Regions from separate parts of the Homo sapiens genome. Here regions 2 and 3 are each linked to region 1. The links are contacts of gene promoters, found by promoter capture Hi-C in blood cells and fetal thymus (Javierre and others, 2016). All regions are on one chromosome and are shown on one strand. The core of a region is centred on a gene start or on the middle of the fragment in contact, and the rest is flanking DNA. Distances in the headings are between cores, read along the strand shown.

What was found. Contacts are between HindIII fragments. The CHiCAGO score rates a contact against its expected background, and 5 or more counts as called.
Region 2: a contact is called between the fragment with the promoter of CLCNKB here and the fragment with the promoter of FBXO42 in region 1, in 2 of 17 cell types (endothelial precursors and total CD4 T cells). The highest score is 9.3, in endothelial precursors.
Region 3: a fragment that was not itself captured here is called in contact with the fragment with the promoter of FBXO42 in region 1 in 1 of 17 cell types (non-activated CD4 T cells); the score reaches 5.2 in non-activated CD4 T cells.

The regions. Positions count from the first base shown.
Region 1 is chr1:16,350,885-16,353,761 of GRCh38, reverse strand. It overlaps FBXO42 (F-box protein 42), which reads left to right and starts at 1,282. Exons shown (of 10, transcript NM_018994.3): 1 at 1,282-1,507. RefSeq lists an enhancer at 1,243-2,017. The HindIII fragment of the contact is 4,914 bases long and covers 1-2,877 here.
Region 2 is chr1:16,042,446-16,045,481 of GRCh38, reverse strand. CLCNKB (chloride voltage-gated channel Kb) reads right to left here and starts at 1,700. Exons shown (of 20, transcript NM_000085.5): 1 at 1,602-1,700; 2 at 890-996. The coding sequence starts at 989. The HindIII fragment of the contact is 13,884 bases long and covers 1-3,036 here.
Region 3 is chr1:15,840,304-15,843,284 of GRCh38, reverse strand. All of the region lies in intron 1 of SPEN-AS1 (SPEN antisense RNA 1), which reads left to right. Among named protein-coding and RNA genes, the nearest start is that of SPEN, 5.9 kb to the left of the region's middle. The HindIII fragment of the contact is 5,451 bases long and covers 1-2,981 here.

The sequences.
Region 1 (2,877 bases), core at 33-2,532:
AGAGTGGACAACATGGCGAAACCCTGTGTCTACAAAAAAAATGGAAAAATTAGCCAGGCATGGTGGTGCCCGCCTGTAGTCCCAGTTACTCAGGAGGCTAAGGTAGGAGGATAGCTTGAGCCTGAAAGACAGAGGTTGCAGCGAACCAAGAACTCATCACTGGACTCCAGCCTGGGCAACAGAGTTAGACCCTGTCTCAAAAAAAAAAAAGTTATTATCAATAGAAATGAATGTCTGGGTTATGATAAGGGATTGTGGACACCAAAGTTTTATCACGCACGTGAAGCCTCCAAGTGGCAGGTGGGCTCCAGAGAGAACAGATTGTAAATGTTTCTTACCAGTCTTAAGGTCTGTTGTGTTGATGTCAATGCTGAAGGATGTAATGAGGCATGTCTCATGTCCTGCTTCCCGTCATGGCCTGAACCAGTCTCTCAGGTTGGTTACATTTTAGACTGCCCTGGCCTAGGAGGAAGTCCGTTCAGATGGTTTGGTGTTGGGGGGGGGGTGGGGGCTTAGTTTTTTGTTTTGTTTTGTTTTGTTTTTTTGGCTTACAGAGTTTAGACTGAAGCCTTTGACTCTGTATCTGGCATTTCCTTAGACCACATGCTGTAGGGCTGGGCTCATGAAGGTTCTCACCTACACACCAGGTTGCTCCCTTGAGAAGGGGGACTTTGCTGGATCCTATAACCTAGCTAGTAGGAAGTAAAGGAGCTTGGGAACCAGACAAGCCTGAGTTTAAATCCTCTTTCCCGCGCCGCCCCACCTCCACTGATAGGTGTGTGACTCCGGGCAAATAAGTGATCGTTTTCTGTGCCTCAGTTTCCTCATCTGAAAAGTGGAGCTAGTAAGAACTCACAGTGGTTGCTACGAGGCTACGGTTAAGGGAAGACTTCTCCTGCACACCTCAAGCACAGTTTCCCTCCCCTTGGCGATATCCAAGAGCACTCACATCCGCCACAGCCCTCTCTGCTCATCGGGCCCTCGGGGTAGAAGTGAGTTAATTCCTGGCTAAATGTTAGTCTCAAACCACCGGGAAAACCACCCAGTTGCCCCAGACAGTGCAGCGGAGGGTGGGTGCGGCTATCAGGTCGACGCTAGAGACGCGGCGAAGGCGGGTGCGGAGGCCTAGCTCCCCCGAGCGCATTCCACCCTCCACAGAACCTCGGCCTGTGACCACGGCCTTTCTCAACACTGCGCCGCCCCCTGGCCGCCCCTCGCCATCCCGCCGCGCTGACGTGAGTGCGCGCGCGTCCGCCGCGCCCGCCCCGGCGCATGCGCGCTCTGCGCTGTCTTCTCCCGGCCTGAGCAGCAGCAGCTGCGGCGGCGGCGGCGTTTGAGTGGAGGAAGATGGCGGCTCCGGGCGGCTCGGGGTCCCGCCAGCTGTGAGGAGCCCCGAGCACGGCTGTCGCGGCCTGAGGCAGAGCGCCTCTGCTCTGGCCCTGTCCCTGGCTCCCTCATTACCGTCGCCAGCGGAGCGAACCCGAGAGCGTGGAGCGGGCTGGGCCAGGTGAGGCCTCTCCTCCTCCCCGGGCCGCAGAGGGGAGCCGGCGCCTTCTGCCCTTTATGCCCGGGACTGGCAAGGGGCAGCGGGCGCCCGGGGTCTGACGCAGGCCCCGTATCCCACGCGGGGGTCGGTCCTGGTTGGGCAGGGTGACTTGCTATCGCCGTCCTCGAGTGAGGCGAGGAGGAGGACAGCTCCTTTCCAGCCAGCCCTTGGGTTGGGAGCGAACCCACCCCCTCTCCTCAGCAGGGTGGTTCTCGTCCCCTCACCCGGGCAGTGAAGGGGTGTGTGGCCCGGGCAAGGATGGCTTTAGGGTGTCAGGTAATCTTTCATCGCTCCTCCGAACATTTCACTCCTTTGCGAGAGAGGAGTCGGGGGTCGGGTGCCCATCAAAATTGGGGCTGCGGCTGGGGGCTAGCATCTCTGAACCTGCAGCTGCAAAGGGATAATTTTGGAATTGGTTTACGTTAAATAAAACACAAAAGGCCTTTCCTATCCCCTAGCTTGTTGAGTGTTCCCTTAGAGAAATGGGAACTGCGGATCTCCTTGCTTGAGACAGCAATCCATGCTGTGACTGTGGAAGGCTTCTCTTGGCGAGAATTGTGTGTGCAAAGGGAACGGTGGAGGGTGGGAACGAATTTGTAAGCGAAGAGAAAACGATTGTGAGATCTTGATGGTCGCTGCAGAGTAACTTCAGCGCTGAGTTCGTTTGAAACCTTCGGTTTGTTAAGATTCAGAATAACCAATTGCTTTGTCTGTTAAATCTCCCGATTTCTGTTAGGAAAATAAAAGCCTCATTTCTTAATTGCCAGAGTCTGGATTTTTCTGTGGTGGGATTCTGATCGATCTAGATGAAGATTCTGACACATTACCAGTTTTACTTGCTGGCAGTTGCTGGCCCCGACGTTGAAACTATGTTGTTCCTTTTTGAGAACAACTTTTATTGCTGTTTAAATGCTAATTGGGAGACTTCGATTGTGTTTCTGTCATGTAGGGAAGTCGGTTTGAAGCCTTGTGGTCTCTTTCTTGAGGAATGATGGCTTCACTGAACTTGTGCTATGCAGAATTGTTGAGGCGATTGCTTTTGCTTGGACACACCAAAATATCTTTTGTAACAAATTGGCTTTACTTCTGCTTAAGAATGATGACATCATGGATTTAAAGAGGCAAGGAAAATTTGGGGGAAGTACCATCATTTAGAATTGAATATTTAGAATTAAGTCTGTATATCTTATGGCCATTAGTGATGCTGTGTTAAATTGCTAACTTTGAGTGTATTCACGTGTGTAATCTGATTGGGTGTCTTTTCTATTGTATGTTGTCATTTTATACCCAGTAACTGTTTGCTTTTGACAAGCCAGTATAAATAGATGATT
Region 2 (3,036 bases), core at 451-2,950, 310 kb after region 1:
CTTCAGGCAGAGAGGCTGGGGCAGGGGGATGGAGCTTGGTGGTATACTCTGGGGTAGTCCCGAGGGGGCCCTGCCTCACATAAGTGGCCGGGCAGGATTTGTGGGAGGTGACAGTGGTGACACAGTGGGTGCCAGGACTGCTGCCCCTACCAGAAAGCCGTTGACCTGCCGACCCTCCGCATCCCTGCCTGTACTGGGAGGTTCCTGGGGGACAGGGAGTATGGAGGGGGCTGGCAGCTACAGCTTTCACCTGCATCCCCGCAGAGTCCATAGCTTAGAGAGCACCAGGATCTAGCAGACTCCTGCGTGTCCCAGGACCTGTGGCGCCAGGTATCCTCTGGGTCCCCAGCAATGCTCCTGGCCCACTGGCTGCTAGCCCAGCCTGGGAGCTGGCCCTCACTGGCTGTGGGCACCAGCCCCTGGGGTTGCAGTCAGCCTCCTTCTGTGGTCCCTACTTGCTCTGCCCCGTAGCTGAGGGGACAGTCAGGTCTCAAAGTGAACAAAGCACATGGGGCTCCAAGGAAAGGTGCCAAGTGTAGGCTGCCCCAGCCCCTTGCTGTGGCCCCAGCTGTCCCAGCAGCTAACCCCCACGTCCCCTCATTGGCACAGGTAGGTGAGGGAGAGGCCTGGGTGGAAGATGGGCACAGTGACCAGGCCTTGGGCTGTATCTCCCGAAAGGCAGAGGGCAGATGCCCGGCCCATCTGACCCACAGACAGCTGGACAGACAGACCCCTTCCCTCCCTGCCACCCAGGAGACTTTGGGCAGTCATGTCCTGGACAAATGCCAGGAGGAGGGTGGTTCCTGGGCAGGGAGGTGGGGTGGGAGCTGGGCAGGAATGATGTCCTGAGTGGTCCTCCAGGGGGAAGGGAAGAGGACCTGGCTCTCACCTCGGATGCCTCGGCGGATGCGGGGACAGGGGCCCCACAGCTCCTGCAGAGTCACAGGGTTCCCTGAGGAGCCTTCACGCAGCCCCACAAACTCCTCCATCAGGCCCCTGGAGAAGCGGATAGAGGGAGGGACCGCGGTGAGCTGCTGCACGTCCTCGCACTGCCTCTAGGCCCTTCCAGTGCTCTCCCCACCCATGAAGAGGAAAGATTGTGCGTGTGTGTGTGTGTGTGTGTGTATGTGAAGTTATCACACTAGGTCTGTGTGTGCCTTCATCCCTGAGTTTCCGTCACTGAGGGTGTGTGCCTGTGTGTGTCATTGTGTGGGATGGGGGTGGGATTCCTAGGTGTCCCCCTGTGTCCAGCAGCAGACTGGGCACAGGCCGGAGCCCAAGCCCTGCTCAGAGCCCCTTCCCCTTCGGTGGCAGCCGCTCCCACCCTCCTGGGTCACTTGGCGCTTCCACTGCTGGGAGCAGTCTCTGCCCAGGGCTGTGACACTCTCACTGCAGAGTCCCATGGATGGCTCTGACTCTCCCTGTCCACCTATGAGCACCCCTGACCCCAGCTCAGGCCACAGAGGCAGCAAAACCCCAGGCCCAGAAGAAGATCCCACCAGGGCCAAAGTGAGGTGCTGGCTCCTGCCCTTACCACCCCCCCCCCCCCGCCCTGCCTGTCTGGCCCTGGCAGGCCCCAGCATCTTGCAGCGACCCCTCACCTGTCAGTCCTCCTGCTGTGGCTGAGCTGGCCCTCCTCTCACAGAGCCTCCAGCTCCCCTGCACCTGGACAGGTGTGTGTTCCAACAATCAACATCCTCCCCCCTTTCCCGCCTGGGCCCAGGGTTTATGGCGAACACTTAGAATGTCCTTGAAAACCGATCAGAACTGCCCAGGCCGGAGCAGAGCAGAGCAGAGCTGCCAACAGGGAGGGGAACAGGAGCCTCCCCACCCACCATAGCTGCACAGAGGGTGGTGCCCAGCTGTACTCAGGCTCCTGGGTGCTGCTGGACGGGGGCTGGGAAGGGGGAGCTCACGCACACAGCAGGACAGAGAGGGGTCATCTGCCAAGGCTGAGGCTCAGGGTCCAGGGGTCTCAGAGCTGGACATGGAAGGTTTGGAAAAGCACAGAGGGAGAGGGGAGGAGGCTGGGCAGAGAAGGAGAAAGCAGGCCGGCAAAGGTGAGTGGGGCCAGCATGACCACAGCCTCCCTGTGTGCCAGGTAGAGAGTCAGCCTTCCCCTAGATTAATTACCCTGAGTGCCCACGGAAATCCCACGAGGCAGGCAGCGTGATCCCGTTGTAGAGAAATGGTGTCTCAGGGAGGTGGGGCTGCCCGTCTAAGATCACGGAGGCCGAGGCAGCGCCAGGATTCCCAGCCCAGGTTTGCCTGGCTCCAAAGCCCGCAGGCTGTGCCACACGGTCCCATCCTGATGACCCATCTTGTCCAGGGCTGGCGAGGAGGCCGACACCTGGGGCAAGGCAGTGAATTGGGGTCAGGAACTCAGACTTGATCCTGTGTCCAGACCCTCCAGGCTCAGGAAATGCCTCTCAAAGCACACGTCCAAGGGCCAGCGGCTCTGGTGGGGACTTCTGGGTAATTCCACAGAGTTTGTCCCACCCCAACAGAGGATGGCAGCACAGGTGTGAGGGGACATGGCGAGGAACAAGCACGTGCCGTGTGCCTGCAACGTGTCAGAAGCGTCACATCCGCAGCTCAAGTCCTCCTCCCCACACCCTGTGAATGGGGAGAGCCTCGCCATTTTGTAGATGGTCAGAGAGGTGAGTCACTCATCCAAGGTCACACAGCAGAGGCTGAACCCAGCCCCACACTGTGCAGCTCTTCCCCTGCCCAAAGCTCCTCCAGCTCCTGAGGCTGAACCAGGGCAATGGTTTGGGCACAGAACAGAAGAGTTGTGTCTGATGCCACTTTGGGGCAAGATGTTGGGGGCAATTGCCTCCAGTCCTACCCAGACAAAGCCACTCTCTGAATAACATGATGGCCCTTGGATGATTGTTAAAATCTGGGACCCTGGGCCACCCTTTGCCCCTAGATGCCAGGCAAGTCAAATCAAAATTGAAGGTGTGTGTTGTGGGAGGTGGGATGGGGGTTGCCGCTCTGCATGAACCCGAGCCCACCTTCATCTTGGCCACCCTG
Region 3 (2,981 bases), core at 471-2,970, 510 kb after region 1:
CGCCCGGCTAATTTTTGTGTTTTTAGTAGAGATGGGTTTTCACCATGTTGGCCAGGCTGATCTCGAAACACTGACCTCAAGTGATCCACCTGCCTAGGCCTTCCAAAGTGCTGGGATTACAAGTGTGAGCCACTGCGCCCAGCCCAAAATATAAAAATAAAATAAAATATATATAAAATATAAAAAAAATTCTTCTTTTTTTCTTTTGAGATGGAGTCTTGCTCTGTCGCCCAGGCTGGAGTACAATGGTGCCACCTCAGCTCACTGCAACCTCCACCTCCCAGGTCCACACGATCCTCCCACCTCAGACTCCCTAGTAGCTAGGACTAAGGTGCACACCACCACACCCAGCTAATTTTTGTATTTTTAGTAGACACAGGATTTCACCATGTTGGCCAGGCTGGTCTGGAACTCCTGACCACAGGAGATCCACCTGCGTATTTCTTCTTAAAGGCATCATATAAAATATATAAAAGGCATCATATAAAATCATATAACTGGCCAGGCACAGTGACTCATGTCTGTAATCCTAGCACTTTGGGAGGCCGAGGCGGGTGGATCACAAGGTCAGGAGTTCAAGACCAGCTTGGTCAAGATGGTGAAACCCCATCTCTACTAAACATACAAAAAAATTAGCCAGGTGTGGTGGCGGGCGCTTAGAATCCCAGCTACTCGGGAGACTGAGACAGACAATTGCTTGAACCCAGGAGGCAGAGGTTGCAGTGAGCCAAGATCGTGCCAGTGCATTCCAGCCTGGACGACAGTGAGACTGCATCTCAAAAAATAAGTAAATAAAATAAAATAAAATAATATAATATTAACTAGCTATAAAATGAACAAAGCCCCAACCACATGAGAATTTGACAATACCAACAAACTCGTACTATTAGAACCAAATTTTTTCCCCAAAATAACAGAAAATAAAACGCAACACCACTGTAATATTATTAAAGGGTGTTTGATCTCGGCAGTGAGCCAAGATCGCGCCATTGCACTCCAGCCTGGGCAACGAGCGAAACTCCATCTCTAAATAAATAAATAAATAAATAAATTATCAGAACTCCAAAGAATTGAAAATATTAGCTAGCTAGTCCTCTAGTTCTTTTTTTTTTTTTTTTTTTTTTTTTTGAGACAGGGTCTCCCTCTGTCGCCCAGGCTGGAGTATAGTGGTGCAATCTTAGCTCACTGCAACCTCTGCCTCCCAGGCTCAAGCCATCCTCCCACCTAGTAGCAGAGTCTACAGGCGCACACCACCAGGCCCAGTTAATTGTTTTTGGTATTTTTTTGTAGAGGCGTCTCCATATTGCCCAGGCTGGTCTTGAACTCCCGAACTCAAGGGATCTGCCAGCCTTGGCCTCCCAAAGTGCTGGGGTTATAGGTGTGAGCCACTGCACCCAGCGCAGATCCATTCTTTAAGCAAGCTAATACTTTATAACAGAGCCAGGCACGGTTGGCTCACGCCTGTAACCCCAGCACTCTGGGAGGCCCAGACAGGTGGATCACCTGAGGTCAGGAGTTCCAGACTAGCCTGGCCAATATAGTGAAACCCCGTCTCTACTAAAAATACAAAAATTAGCTGGGCATGGTGGCATGCACCTGTAATCCCAGCTACTCAGGAGTCTTAGGCAGGAGAATCACTTGAACCTGGGAGGAAGAAGTTGCAGTGAGCCTGGGCAACAGAGTGGACTCCGATAAAAAAAAAAAACACTTCATATGGTACTTTACTGTTCAACCCTCTAAGAAAGCTAAATAATTTATTCCGTGTTATTTTTAGTTTTTCAGAAATGAATATACTGGCTGATATATTTTTAAATCAGTTCTTAAGTTTCTACCATTGTTTATTTCTGGAAAGTTGCTAAAAGTAACATTTTTCCCCCTGTGAGGAAATACTGGCAATATACTTAATACTAAGAATTACTAATGCAGTTTACCAATATTTGTGTAATTGAGTGGAAAATAGACTGGAAAGATATTTGCAAATGTTAATCATGGTTAATGCCTATGTGGTAGAATTTGAATTTTTTAAAAAAATTTTATTCCTGGCTGGGAGCAATGGCGCATGCCTGTAATCACAGTACTTTGGGAGGCTGAGGCCAGTGGATCACCTGAGGTCAGGAGTTCGAGACCAGCCTGGCCAACATGGTGAAACCCCGTCTCTACTAAAAATACAAAAATTAGGGCCGGGCGCGGTGGCTCACGCCTGTAATCCCAACACTTTGGGAGGCCAAGGTGGATAGAACACAAGGTCAAGAGTTTGAGACCAGCCTGGCCAATATGGGGAAACCCCGTCTCTAATAAGAATACAAAAATTAAGGCCGGGCACAGTGATTCACACCTGTAATCCCAGCTACTCGGGCGGCTGAGGCAGGAGAACTGCTTGAACCCAGGAGGCAGAGGTGGCAGTGAGCCAAGATCACACCACTGCACTGCAGCCTGGGCAACAGAGCAAGACTCTGTCTCTAAAAAAAAAAAAAAATTATCTGGGCAGGGTGGCGTGTACCTCTAATCCCAGCTACTTGGGAGGCTTAGGCAGGAGAATCGCTTGAACCCGGGAGGCAGAGGTTGCAGTGAGCTGAGATCATGCCACTGCACTCCAGCCTGGGTGACAGAGCAAGACTCCATCTCGAAAAAAAAAAAGAATACAAGTGCCTGGCACGGTGGCTCACACCTGTAATCCCAGCACTTTGGGAGGCCGAGACGAGCGGATCATGAGGTCAGGAGACAGAGACCATCCTGGCTAACACGGTGAAACCCCGTCTCTACTAAAAATACAAAAAATTAGCCGGGCTTGGTGGCGAGTTCCTGTAGTCTCAGCTACTCAGGAGGGTGAGGCAGGAGAATTGCTTGAACCTGGGAGGTGGAGGTTGCCATGAGCCGAGATCGCGCCACTGCACTCCAGCCTGGGCAACAGAGTAAGACTCCATCTCAAACAAAAAAAAAAATTAGCCGGGCATGGTGGTGGCCACCTGTGATCACAGCTA